2 separate regions of the Homo sapiens genome follow, and region 1 is linked to region 2. The links are contacts of gene promoters, found by promoter capture Hi-C in blood cells and fetal thymus (Javierre and others, 2016). All regions are on one chromosome and are shown on one strand. Each heading gives the region's core, a stretch centred on a gene start or on the middle of the fragment in contact. The rest is flanking DNA. Distances are from core to core; before and after follow the strand shown.

Evidence for each region. The method cuts DNA at HindIII sites, captures the fragments that hold promoters and counts their contacts. A CHiCAGO score of 5 or more calls a contact.
Region 1: a fragment that was not itself captured here is called in contact with the fragment with the promoter of PDCD4-AS1 in region 2 in 1 of 17 cell types (erythroblasts); the score reaches 7.8 in erythroblasts.

The regions. Positions count from the first base shown.
Region 1 is chr10:113,852,694-113,859,453 of GRCh38, reverse strand. It overlaps NHLRC2 (NHL repeat containing 2), which reads right to left and starts at 4,793. Exons shown (of 11, transcript NM_198514.4): 1 at 4,404-4,793; 2 at 774-926. The coding sequence starts at 4,581. It overlaps LOC124902506 (a long non-coding RNA gene), which reads right to left and starts at 767. Exons shown (of 2, transcript XR_007062295.1): 1 at 1-767. It overlaps DCLRE1A (DNA cross-link repair 1A), which reads left to right and starts at 5,372. Exons shown (of 9, transcript NM_014881.5): 1 at 5,372-6,731. The coding sequence starts at 6,272. RefSeq lists an enhancer at 3,609-4,313 and a silencer at 4,324-4,683. The HindIII fragment of the contact is 866 bases long and covers 1,489-2,354 here.
Region 2 is chr10:110,864,683-110,872,153 of GRCh38, reverse strand. PDCD4-AS1 (PDCD4 antisense RNA 1) reads left to right here and starts at 1,250. Exons shown (of 1, transcript NR_026932.1): 1 at 1,250-3,264. It overlaps PDCD4 (programmed cell death 4), which reads right to left and starts at 226. Exons shown (of 12, transcript NM_014456.5): 1 at 136-226. LOC124902500 (a long non-coding RNA gene) reads right to left here. Exons shown (of 2, transcript XR_007062288.1): 2 at 5,706-5,980. RefSeq lists silencers at 1-33, 64-113, 4,366-4,435 and enhancers at 1,118-1,728, 4,556-4,605, 7,007-7,386. The HindIII fragment of the contact is 8,654 bases long and covers 542-7,471 here.

The DNA.
Region 1 (6,760 bases), core at 672-3,171, 3.0 Mb before region 2:
TATAGTCTATTCTCATCTTTACTAACACAGGATCGGTGACCCTATCTCTTTTTTTTATCCACTCCAAGATTAGTGCTTCAATTCACTTGAACCTAATTAAATGATACTTTTAATTAATTTCATTTACTCCCATGTTCTTTTTTTAGAAAGTAGACAAAAAAAATTTGATTAATTTTTCAAACTTCTAAAGCCAATAAGTATAATCTCCTACATCTTTAGAATTTGTAATACCATAAAAATGGATTTCCTAGTGTGCTTTGAAAAACATTAGCTGTAATAAATCATTTTTTAATGAAGCAGGGTCAAAGAAAGAGTATCTGTTATATTTTGCATTCCACTGCAGTTCATGTCATTCAATATTAATGAAAGCCTAGTCACATTTCCTAATAAGAACTTTAAACCTTTGTATCACAGTGAAAACAGTGTAAAATTAAGGTCAGATATTTTATTTTTTTAATAGAACAAATTTAAGTCAGCCTCAACATACAAAAAGACCTTTTAAAATATCTGATCATGAAAAATAGCAAATTATGCCCCTATCCGCAGAGAAAAACCATATACTAAATGCTGGTTCTTTAGATAGGCAAACCACTATCACTAAGCTTAATCCTTTATGAAAAGGTACATGAAGTCTTTAATTCATAGATAAGAGATTACTTTTAGAATCCCTGAAGCCTTGCCAAATGTTCATTCTCCTATGAGCTAATGAGTCAGCCACTCTTCCAGTGACTATGCCAGGACAGTCTGTTAGAAACTAATTAAAGAGCAGATACCTTTATCAGAGTATGTGTGTTCTAATGCATGGAGATCAGGCAATAGGTGAATACAGTTTATGCAGCAGTAGGTGAAGAAATCAAGGACGACTATTTTTCCACATAGATCCTTGTAGACAGAAATAGGTTCTTCTGTGTTCAGCCATTCTAATCCTGAAATTTACATAAAATAAATTACAATGATTAAAGAGAAAGATAAAATTTACCTAAAACTTTCCATTAAAATGTGACCTTTTTTTTTAAGACTAATGCAAATAAACACTTTGAGAGAGTAGCACCATATAAAGGCTGTGGCAGTTGCATGTATTTATAGTTGTTTACTATGAACCATCATTTTCTATCAACAAAAGAAATAAAAGATATATCTTTATGACTGTAACTAAACAGGTATTTGGGTTTGGAAGAACATACCAAAAAGGCAAATTAGCAGAGATTAAAAGCCCAAAAAGGGAAGAAAGAAAAGGAAGGGATGGGGGTACGGGTGGGGGAGCAGGAGGAGTAGAGGATGGGAAAGCTGCTATTATGATGCCATCTGCAAATAAAGCAAGAAAAAGCTACTAAATTCTTTCAGAAATAGGGTAACAGTCTGTGAAAAGGAGTAAAGGCAACACACTTAGGCAAAAAAAAAAAAAAAGGAAGAAATATCAAATAGTAAATGAACCTAATTACATAAACAATTAGATACAAATGGGCTACTGAGAATAAAGGTCAAGCTTAAGAATAGTAAGATATAACTAAACATCAAAAAGGAGTGAAATGTGTGTAAGGATAAACATACAAAATGCCTAAAACAGTTTCCTAAAGGAGAAGAAACTGAAATATTCTGGATTTGGATGAGACCGTAAATACAAAATAAAATATGCTAAATGTAAAGTTAAGCAAAATACACTTATTATTGTCACAGATTTCATTGAGGTAACATTAATATTAATGAAGAACGTGTTCCCTTTCCTCCAAAAAAAGAAAGCTCTGTACTATGAAGAAAGATTTTGTTAACTAATAATAAAGTACAGCATCCCTATTTAACCAATTTAAGAAAACAAAGTTTACTGCTTATAAATAACTCAATGCAGCTATTACAACTATTAATTATGCCTTGAAGCAGGTATTTAGAATAGCTTTTAGCAACTGAAAGCCAAACTTGGGAGGAAGAAGTAAACAGTAACAGCTAATGATTAACAACAATAACTGTTGTTACTCAATCATAACAAAATTCTAGAAAAAAAAATCTGCAGATCAAACTAGTATTTGGGCCAATTAGTCCAAACTAATGAGGTTTCAGGGTACAGTGACCTCTTAATTATCCATTTTGTTAAAATATTAATTATATACCAGATCAAGTGATCATACAAAACTTCAGACTAATTAATGTATATTTCATATCCTACTTGCAAAATATTTATTAATCTGTCTTCTGTGACTTTTCTGTAAATAGTCAAGAGTGGCTTAGATCAGGGGGTATAGAAAGAATGACTACATCTTAGTCACCGTGCTAGATACTTACCAGGCTTAATAAAATTTATTTTACAATAACAATAATTACAATGAATACAATAAAAAGCTGCTAACATTTAGTAAGCTTTTCTGTGAATTAAGAATTTTACATATATTACTTTCAATACAAATAATAATCCTGAAAGGTAAATAATAGTTCAGTTTTGCAAGTGAGAAATATAAGGCTTTGAGGTCAAGTAACTTGCTCAAAATCACACAACCAACAAAATGGAAATAACAAGGATCTAATTCCAGGTCTCTGTGAATCTATCCATTACACTGCACTGTCTCCTATAAACATGTAAGTCTTCTAAGAAATGAACAAAGCATACAGTTTTTCAAATAAAGTTATGTTTATGACTTCCTGATTATAGTTTACTGCTAAAGAAACCAAGAAAACAGTCATTTCTAGCATTCTGTCCTCAATAATCGGGTCCAGGAGAAAATCATACTGTGTTAAACACAAAGCCTGAATATTTTATTATATGTTTTTTTAGTTATGAGTCACAGAGGTCAAATCTCATGGGAATAAAATACACTCCCTGTAAATACAAACAAGACTAGAAAATAAAAAACATTCCCCAAATCCCAGTTGATGGCCTGCTTGTTTATAACAGTGTACTTACTATATAACTACCTTCTGCACCAAAACTTTTTAAAATCATATATTTGTATAGATGTAAACAATCTTTTAAAGTTTGATGGGATAAGCATTCATGTACCCAATTCTTTTGTAAGAATTCCACAATATTTCAAATCCAGTATAAGATTAATAGCAGGAAAAATAAGCACTTCTCAAGGTGAGTAGTGCAAAAGACTTGGAAAGACACCAATACTCTGTTGTCGGAGGCAGGTTCCGATATACCTCCCATGAGATAACTGAATTCTGCCACATCCAACCAATTAACTATACATGTGGTTTCAGTGTCACGCCAGGACACATGCCAGCACCATCAGGCAAAGCAATGCTACTCCCATCCAAAGAAGGTAAAATACGTTTTCATTTATCATGGCAAGATATGCTTCACAAACATCCCTGCCGGGAATATCTGTTCCTTCATGCTCCAAAAGCTCACATGGCCAGGATTTAAACCCTGGAAATAGGCTATAATTGATTCCGATTTTTAAAAGTATTAGTTTCACGACTTTGAACGGAGAAGCACAGTACAGCTAAGAAACCAGCAAATCCAGGGCCTGTATAATCCAACTGGGGCAGTTATCAGCTGTGAGGCCCTGGGCATGTGACTTAACCTCTCTGTGCTTCCATTTCCTCAACTGTGAAAGGGGAATGATAGGAGCACCTCACTGGGATATAGAGGTAATTGAATAAGGTAATATCTCCTCAAGTGTTTAGGTATCCCCTCAAGTGTTTAGGACTGTGTGTGGCAGGCCGGGCGCGGTGGCTCACGCCTGTAATCCCAGCACTTTGGGAAACGGAGGCGGGAGGATCACTTGAAATCAGGAGGTCGAGACCAGCCTGGCCAACATAGTGAAACGCCGTCTCTACTAAAAATACAAACAAAACAAAACAAAACAAAACAAAACAAAACAACTAGCCAGGCGTGGTGGCGCGGGCCTGTAGTCCCAGCTACTCCGGAGGCTGAGGCAGGTGAATCGCCTGAACCTGGGAGGCGGAGGTTGCAGTGAGCCAAGATCACGCCACTGTACTCCAGCCTGGGAGACAGAGCGAGACTCCGTATCAAAAAAAAACAAAAAAAAACCCTGTGTGTGATACATGAAAAAGTGATCAATAAATGTCAAGATGATGCAGAAAGATGACCAGAAGACACTGGGGAACCAGATTGAATGGACAGAATGGTGTGGACGTTGCAATCATTGCCACCGGGGACACTAAATATTCACGGAGTGTCCACTTGGCTAATATCAGGCGCGGGCGGAACTCAGGATACACAGACGAGTATGTGGATCCCCGTGCCAGGGAAACCCCCGTCGGTGGCCGCTTGGGGACCCCTGGGAATTGCAGAACACGCGAACAGCGGCCCAAGTTAGGCGAAGGGCCACTCCCCGGGGCGCCAGCGGCACAAACCCGCCTAGCCCACCGCTTCGCGGGAGGGCGCCGTCCCCGAGGAAGGGGAGGTGCCGGGAGGGGCCCCCACCCCGACGCCAGCCCCTCACCTTCCGGAAACTCGGGTACTGACAAGTCCTGCTCCCAGCCGTCCACCTTCTGCAGATACTGGTAGACCAGGCTGTCCTTCTCCTGCTGGGTAACGGCGTCGAGCAGGGCGTACTCTAGCGAGGTCTGCGCGGGGAGCAGGCCGGAGAGGCTGCGGCCCCGGCCTCCGGGCGCCGCCATGTTTCCGCCGGGCTCCCGATGCGGCCGCCGGGCCCGCGGGAGAGTCTCGCTGGGAGAGACGAAACGTTCACTGTCCTGTGGTTTCCAAACGGCGCATTCACCTCACCCTCCACTAGCCCCACTCCACGCCAATGACACTTTTTTCTTTTTAAAGCATAGGTCCAAGTGCCAAAAGTCCAAATCGGCGCAGTTCCCGGGGACGTAATTAAACTGCCGTCCGACCCACCCCGCCCCTTTTCGGTCCCCACGCCGCAGCCGAGCCTGGACATTGAGAGCGTCAGATTCAACATGGAATAAGGCCTTAGGGACAGCGTCCCAGAGGCGCTAAGGGAAACATCCCCAACCCTCCACATTGGGAATTAGCGGACTTTCGAACACAAATAAAATACAATAAATCCGTAGGACTTAAAAGGGCAATGTATTTTTAAAAATTATTTTTAAAGTCTCTCTCTTTGAACAGCATCCGCCGATTCGACACGGCACTGGCAGCGGGAACTTGTTCCCGCCAAGACCCTAAAGGTAAAGCGGGTAGGGATAACCTCCAGAGAGAAGGCTTTGTAAACTGGAAGTGACTGGCGCGAGTGGCTTTCACTTATACACAAACACAGCGTTTTGTCATCTGGGAGTGCTGAAAGTGCGGGCGCGAACACATTTTTAGATGGGGGTGCCGGGAGGAGCGGATGCAGCTGGAGCGGCTCCCTTGGGGTGCCGAGTGGCAGGTGGGGGGCGGTGAGGGTCCTTGAGGGCGGGCCTTAGAGTCTTCAGAAGGGCAGGACTCTGAGGGCTTTTTGGAGCTCGCTATGCTTAACCTGGAGATGATTAAGGCCCCGCTTCCTGGCCTCCCAGCCTCTAATGCCAAAAGATAAGGGAGAGGCTGGCGTGTGACCCCGTTTTGAGTCAGGTGGACAGAGGGCTGGCCACCTTCGGAACCATGGGTGCAATACGGAGTCAGACCTCAATACAAGCCCACTCTTTCACATATTTGAACTTTTTTCACATATCAACTTTTTTTGTTCACTGTGCAGGGATTGTTCATTGCTGCTGGAGGAAGATCATGGACTGTCGCGGGAAACTGAAGTGGTTGAGTATCCACTAGTCGTGGATGAGGGCAGTGACTTCGCAGTTTTTTGCGAATTACACATCTCTTTGATTATGTTGTGACTAGTTTTGTTAGATAGTCATTTAGTGTTTGGGATACCTGTTAAGCCCTTTGTCCAGGGACTGTGGTTGGATTTATGAATTATTTGGACGGTTGTCCACTTGAAAGAACTGACAGTAGCTTCATAACAATGTTACAAATCTCGTTCTAAGATTAAGCTGTTGAACCTATATTTGCCATTAGCGCTTAATTTTTGAAGTATTATTTTTATGAATCAAGCCCTGGAAAAGGACAAGATATTTGAATGAAATAGCACCCATAATGGAGAACTTCACAGTTGCTACTCCTGTGATAGGTTTATCTTAGTTTCATTGTGGTATAAATGGAATAGCAGGTGTTGTCAGGTACAAGGTTTGTAGCTTGCCAATATGTTCATTACCAACACTGCAGATTCCCATTGAGTTGGTGGGGGTTTTGTTACCTTTGTTTTTTTTCTCAGCAAAATAATTCTATAACTTTTTGTTTGTGACAAGAAATGGACTTTCAGTTTACTTAAGATTAATACTTCTTGAATGATAAAATCATTTTGCCATGTTAGAAGACATTTCCGAAGAAGACATTTGGGAATACAAATCTAAAAGAAAACCAAAACGAGTTGATCCAAATAATGGCTCTAAAAATATTCTAAAATCTGTTGAAAAAGCAACAGATGGAAAATACCAGTCAAAACGGAGTAGAAACAGAAAAAGAGCCGCAGAAGCTAAAGAGGTGAAGGACCATGAAGTGCCCCTTGGAAATGCAGGTTGTCAGACTTCTGTTGCTTCTAGTCAGAATTCAAGTTGTGGAGATGGTATTCAGCAGACCCAAGACAAGGAAACTACTCCAGGAAAACTCTGTAGAACTCAAAAAAGCCAACACGTGTCCCCAAAGATACGTCCAGTTTATGATGGATACTGTCCAAATTGCCAGATGCCTTTTTCCTCATTGATAGGGCAGACACCTCGATGGCATGTTTTTGAATGTTTGGATTCTCCACCACGCTCTGAAACAGGTAAGACTGCAGAAAACGTAGTAGTTTCT
Region 2 (7,471 bases), core at 1-2,500:
AGGCCCGGACCTGACAGGACCGCGACCCCCACGCCTCCGCCCCCGCCCCCTCCCATCTTGCGGCTGCCTCCGAGGAGGGATGGGGGAGAGGGCGCAGTCTTCCCGAGCGTGTGAGCCGCGCCTACTGGTACTGACCCCTCGGGCCCCCGCCGCTGCTCGCCCAGGTTCCTGGTCAGCCGGCCCCGACCCCGCTCTTCTGTCTCTGCCGCCGCCTCGGAGAGTCTCTGGCCCTTCTCGCTCTGTTTGTTTTTGTTTTCTTCTACCCAGTAACACGGGGGCGAGAGGGCGGCGCTTATTGGCCGAGGCCGGGTGGTCGGCTGGCCAATCGTGGCGGCGGAGCCGGAGCTGAGGAGGAAAAGGGAGAGGAGTGAAACGTGGAAAGTTGGGGAGGGGCGCGGGAGGGCGCATGCGCATGTGGCTCCTGGGACTGGCTGGAGCGGGAGTTGAGCGGGAAGTCGGGGTGGGGGTATGTTGGGAGGCGTGGCGGGATGGGAGCGTTGGGAAAAGGGCAGTGCTGGGGGATGGGGACGAGGATGAAGCTTCCTCGACCCAGCTCACCCATTCTCCTCACAGGGCGTTCTGCAAACTCGGCTGAAGCAAAGGTTTTGAGCTTCCTGATGGTCCCTGCCTCCATTTCTAGAAACTGCTTAGGCGAACACTCCAAGTGATCAGCCTGTCCGATTCCTCCTCCCTCTGGCCGCTGCTTTCTCTGTGGCTTCCAGTTTCTGGAGATCCCATGCTAAGAAGTTTCTCTCAGCGAATCCCCTCAAACCTTTGAGATGGAAATAATTCCCATTTCACAGATATAAAGCAGGCTCCAAAACTCTTTGAAGTTCCTTTGCTAATCATGACTAGCCAAGCCTCTGGCGTTCAAACGCACAAATTCCGGCCTCCAGTGCTGGGGTTCTCAGCCATGGCTACAATTTCTGTATTGAAACTTCCACCTCCCCTCGCTGTTCTCTGTGACTTTTCCTCTTGGCTGCATTGGTTTTGGCTGGTACTATCCTTACTCTTTCAAGGTCACGGTCCCCTGAGGGTGATAACCAGAACCTTAGGCTTCCTTTGTGTTCCCAGGCGGGGACTTAGCCACTGCCTCTGATCAGATTTTTCAGTTGTCTGATGGGCAGCACCGAATGATTGCTTGTGCTCTCCAGAACCCAACTGCCTCATCCCGCACAGGCCAGCGCTTTCCCTTGGCTGCCCAGTCACCCTGCCTGGGAATCATCTCTAATGCTACTATTTCTCTGCACACACACGCACACACACACACACAAACCTTCACTGGCTTCCCATTGCCTCTCTTGAGTGTCAGCGCCTCGGTCGGTCATTCAAGGCTCCGTGATGTGACTTCAAGACTTTCAGGCTGTGTCTCCACACATCTCCCCATATGCTTCCTCACCCCCTGGTAGTTCTTTATATATCACCTTGAAATGTCTCTCTTCTCATCTCCTATCTCCGCCTGATGCAATCCTTCTGTGCCTCATGGCCCTTCCTGGTAGTTTTTTATTTTGTTGTTGTTGTTGTTTTATTTAATTGAGGCAGGGGCTTGCCCTTTAGCCCAGGAGAATGCAGTGGCATGATCACAGCTCACTGCTGCCTCGACCTCCGTCAGCCTCCCTAGCTCAACGATCCTCTCACCTCAGCCTCCTGAGTAACTGGGACTACAGGCACAGCTCACTATGCCCAGCTAATTTTTGTATTTTCTGTACACACAGGGTTTCATCATGTTGTCCAGGCTGGTCTTGAACTCCTGGGCTCAAGCAATCAGCCCACCTCTGCCTCCCAAAGCGTTGAGATTACAAGCGTGAGCCACCATTCCTGGACCCTCGTAGTTTTTCTGGAGCCTCGTGATTTGATATGATCTTCCTGCCGCTGATTCCTCACAGTGTTGGCTTGCCACACCTCCAGGGGCACTGATCACATTCTACCTGGCATTATTTCATCTGAGTCCCTGTCCTAGCCCTTCTGCCCATTAGACTGTAACCTTGTTTAGGGAAAGACCTGTGTCTTACTCATCTGTGATTTTGTTGTTGTTGTTGTTTTGAGACAGGGTCTTGCCCTGTTGCCCAGGCTGGAGAGCAGTGGTGCAATCTTGGCTCACTGCAGCCTCAACCTGTTGGGGTCAAGCCATCCTCCCACCTCAGCTTTCCAAGTAGCTGAGACTACAGGCCTGTGCCACCACACCCAGCTAGTTTTTTGTATTTTTAGTAGAGATGGGGTTTTGCCATGTTGCCCAGGCTTCTCTTGAACTCCTGAGCTCAAGGGATCTGCCTGCCTCGGCCTCCCAAAGTGCTGGGATTACAGGCGTGAGCCACTGTGCCTGACCCACTCACCTGTCATTGTAGTACTTAAGATGCCTTGTTCATTTATTGTGCCTGTGCAATAAATACACCTTGATTTGAGTTTACAAAGATTCTCAGCAGTTGGTGGTCATCCTCATCTCCTGGGCGGGGGCCTCCTGGTGTGGCCAGTATCTGAATTAGTCTCATAACTCATGTTCACTTTTTAAAATCGGAGCTTCCCAGACCTCAGTTTTGTTTTGTTATTTTCCATTATCTGCAGCTGTCTCCTTTCCCCTCTCTCACCTATACTCTACTGATCAGTGACTGCTGGCTCCTTTGTTACCCATCCTTCTCTTTCTCCACATTTTTTCTCTTCTCATCCCTTTCAGTTCTGGACTGTTTCCTTCTTCCTCCCTGTCTTTCATTTAGTCATTCATTGAATGTACTTACTAAGCACATATAGCATAATCAGGCTGTGTTGGGTAGGCATCCCGAGTTCTATGAGATAAAGAAAGAATGGGATATGATTACCAATTTTAAGAAGCATCTAAAACAACCTGTTATGTTTTAGCAAATTGCCCCCAAAGGACCCATTAGGGAGGAAAACGTTCATGTCCTTTTTGCGTATCATCTCAAGCAGTACCCATGATGGCTGGGATCCCAGAACCCACCTTTGAGAATGCTGCCGTATTTGCGTGTGGTTGACAAGGTTGGGCCAGACACTCAGGAAATAGGGTTGTCGTCCTACCTCCCCCACTAACTTCCTGTAAGAACTTCAGCCCCTCTCAGGACCTTTTTCTTTACCAATAAAATTCAGAAATTGGGCTCAATCAGTAATTCCCAAGTTATTTTCCAAAGAACATGAATTTTGTGGAACTTTAATAGATATCATGCAAAAAAAAATGTGGGAGGGATTGTTCCATGGTCAAATGGTCTTGGAAATAACTCGTTTAAACAAAAATAAAACTGTTTCTTTACCCACAACTCTTCTCAGTGGTTTTTTGTTTGTTTGTTTGTTTTTTGAGATGAAGTTTTGCTCTTGTCGCCCAGTTTGGAGTGTAATGGCACTATTTTGACTCACTGCAACCTGTGCCTCCTGGATTCAAGTGATTCTCCTGCCTCAGCCTCCCCAGTAACTGGGATTATAGGCGCCTGCCACCACGCCTGGCTAATATTTATATTTGTAGTAGAGTTGAGGTTTCACCATGTTGGCCAGGCTGGTCTCGAACCCCTGATCTCAAGTGATCTGCCCTCCTCGGCCTCCCAAAGTGCTGGGGTTACAGGCATGAGCCACCGTGCCCAGCCTTCTCAGTGTTTTTAATAAGCTATGTGCCTTTAGTGTCTTGGGAGACCAAGGTAGGAAGATTAGTAATGTTTCCTACCTTGTTTAAACACAGAACCTTTTTTTCTCAAGATACCCCAGAAGCAGTGTTATTTAGAAACCAACTTGGGAAATATAGATGACAGCCACTGTCACCAACATTCCTTCCAGCTGTGTTGAACACTTAGTCACCTGTGCCTTTGCAGCTGAACATTTAACAAAAAAAATTTTTTTAAGAATAAGCTGAAAATGGAGAAGTATCCAAGTGCCAAGAATTTTTGCCTACCAAATCAATCCACAAATATTTTAGTGTGTGCCTGTTCTATGAAAAGCACAGTTGATTCAGCTGTGTTCTTGGTAAAAGGCATTATACTACTTTAGGGTAGGTAATATCTGAAGCCTAGGGCTGCCCGGGCTTCTGGGCCACAATGTATGTTTTCATTTCACGTTGTAATTGTCACAAACTAGGTTTCTGTTACCTGAATCCCTGTGCCTATGGGCTTATGTTAATTTAGCTATTAGATGACAGAAAAGGAGAGAGGCCTTCCCCTTAACTCACTCTATACAGAATAATGGAATTGCAACTTCCATTTCCCTTAAGAAAGATTCATTCCAAGAGCTTAGGAGAGGAAGGGAGATCACAGTTGCCCAGAACAAGACAGCTGCTCAGAGGTGGCAACAGAAACTCTGTGCTTTGTGAGTAGATAAACGTTACATACTTCATCTTCCCCGTACTCCTCAGGCTTAAGCAGTATTGAGATACTTGGAGGGGCGCAAAGAGTGTTTGGTTTTGTCAGGGGAGAGGGTGGGAGATAGTTCCTATTTTTCGCCTCTTAAGACAAGGTAGTGACCCTGTCCCTAACTAGCTGTGTTGCTTTGGGTGTTTCACTTCCTCTCCCTGAGTGAATTGAATGCTTCAATTTTCTGTGCTGTAAAAGAAGGAGGTGCCCATTGCAGGGAGTCCATAAGCAGCCATTCAGTTCTAACACCCTGGGATGCTGAGCAAGGTACTGAGTTGGTACCATGGGAGTCCTGGGAATGGAGAACAAGAGATAAGAAAGTTTGCTGGCCGGGTGTGGTAGCTCATGCCTGTAATCCCAGCACTTTAGGAGGCCAAGGTGGGCGGATCACTTGAGGCCAGGAGTTTGAGACCAGCCTGACCAACATGGTGAAACCCCATCTCTACTAAAAATACAAAAAAATTAGCTGGGCGTGGTGGTGCATGCCTGTAGTCCCAGCTATTCAGGAGACTGAGGCAGGAGAATCTCTTGAACCTAGGAGGCGAAGGTTGCAGTGAGCTGAGATCCCGCCACTGCACTCCAGCCTGGGTGACAGAGACAGACTCCACCTCAAAACAAACAAACAAAGGAGTTTGCCACTGTTGGCAGGAGAGGATTCCACCGGGTATGGACAGAGGGACTGTCAACCCAGGGGCTTTCTCCTAATGCAAAGCTCAGATAATATCACCTCCCTCCATCCCAAAGGCAAAGTGATGGCTGGTGTGGGTTTAGGAGCACTAATTAATTAATTTGGGTAAAGTACTTGAAAAAGCACAGTTGAAGGCAAAAGATAAGCACCTAGATTTACTATTAATGCCTTTGGAACTCTCCAAGGCCTTTTCATTCTTAGGGTAAAGCCTCATTTGAGAGTTCTGTTTCTTAATAAGAAATGGTCATGCCCCTAAATGAAATTGAGGAGAATTTGTCTTTCTGGGGGCTAAGGGTAGGTCTTAGCCCACTTCCTTCCTAAGAAATTTTAGATGCTGCTGTCATTTGCAGCAACTTCATCTACCTGAACTGACGCCTTGTCTCCTTTTGTCAAACCAAAGCCTGAATTTTGAGAATTTCTCTAAGGCAAAAATTGCACTTTAGCACAAATGGTAAAAGATATAAAACATGTTCTGAAGAAAGAGCTGCATAAAGAATTCTTATAATAATGATGATAGCTGACATTTGTGTTGGCCTAAGATTTACTGAGCACATGTGCATAGACTTTCACCACCTCCCTATGAAGTGGACAAGATTCTGTGCTTTAAACATGAGGGAAATAATGAACCTTGAGCAGGTCACTGGTAATCATGGAACTTTTATACTGAAAGGAAATTTGGGGATTCCCTAGTCCAAACCTTTTATTTTACAAATGGAGAAACAGATTCAGAGAAGTTAAGTGGGTCACCTAAAGCCACACAGCTAAGTTAGTAGCTGAGCCAGAAGTACATATGAGATCTCTGCCCAGAGTTGTAGGGAATGTGCAGACCAGGAATCCAGACCTTCTGGCACCCAGGCTGGGCTGGACTTTCCCTCACATGCCTCTTGATTGACAGTTAAATTTCTGGGTCCTAGAGGCTCCTGGTATCAGATGAATCCATCTCAGGGGCCTGAAAGTGGGGAAGAGGGAAAGGGTAGTAAGCATTGTACAACGTTTAGAAACCCTTCAAGGGGCATTTCTTGCATGTCTTTCCTGGGGTAAAAAGCAAGCACAGAGTAATGTGAAGCATAGTTCAAAAAATAGATGCAATATTTTACTGTGGTATGTACCAAGAAAAATTGAAAGACTACTAAGATTTTATTTCCTCAATTCAGGTTTCGAAAGGTTTTCTTAGTACATTTGTCTTTTATGGGGTTTCCCCCCCTCAAATCACTCCTACCACCTTAGAGATTTAGAAAAAAAGCTCAATTAACATTGAGGAACTCCAGCAAGAAATCTTTCCCGCACCATATCCCCCGCCAAAACACAAATTTTACCACATCTCCTATACTTGGCCTAAGTTCTAAGCCTTTGCAAACTCCAGTTCATTAGACTTTTGCAAACACAGACCATTCCACCCGATGCTTTTCAGCATTTATTATAACTGCCACGCCCTGCATTTAATAGTGTTGAGTCAGGGTAGAGAAGTGCTCCTCCAGTTGTATCTCTCGGGGCTTTATTCGCATTCTTCTGGAACACTGGATCCTGGGCTAGGCTTCACATGTCTCAGAATTAATCCTCTTTTCTCCAGCTGCCCTGAGTGCACATAGCTGCCATTATGCCCCCCTCCCCTCTATGTCTGCAGTGTCGGCTTGCTTCCCAGACAAGGAGGTAGGGCCCAGAAAGCCTGGTATAGAAATGAGGAACTTTTCATTCTGGAAAATAAATGAAATGAATGATCTTGGGTTGTGATTAAGACAGCCAAATCTATAAGGAAGTACAAACAGAGAAGGCTAGAGAAGGGCAGGGGTAAGGCAGGGCTGAGGAAGGGGGATGGCTGAAGAGACAAATGCTGGGTAGAAGTTAATTAATGGAACTAATCGAACCTCTATTTATTTTGAGCAAAAATAAATAAATAAAAGTAGTGGCAAGAGAAGAACAAGGGAAACCCAAGAAAGATGTTGCTTTTTGTTATTAAATGTTTATAATAAAAATGAAGCTAGCCCCGTAGAAGTTCAGAGAAAAGAATAAAGTCCCAGGAGATGACCTGGTGAGGACAACTTGCTCAGATAACAAATGAGCAAACCAAGGCCCAGACAGAAGTGGTGCGGCTCCTGGCAAGACACAGACAGAGCCATAGGACCTCATTCCACGGCCAACAGCTGCCTTCCTTTTCCATATGGTTCTCTGCATGTGTCTTGTCCTTCTGCCCTGTTTTTTTTTTCTTTCCAAAAAGCTAGGAGGACAGCATTCAGAAAGAGAAACTAGGACTGGCATTTGTAAACAACAGCTCCAGGAAGTCCCCAAGTACCGCAGTTGAAGTAACATGATTGACAGTCATTCAGCGCAATTGACAAAGCCAACATCAAAACAGGAACTAGCAAGCAACAGGCCACCCTCCAAGAACCAAGAGTTCAAAAGAAAGAAAAAAAATAACTGCTCAGGGGACAACTGAGAGTCT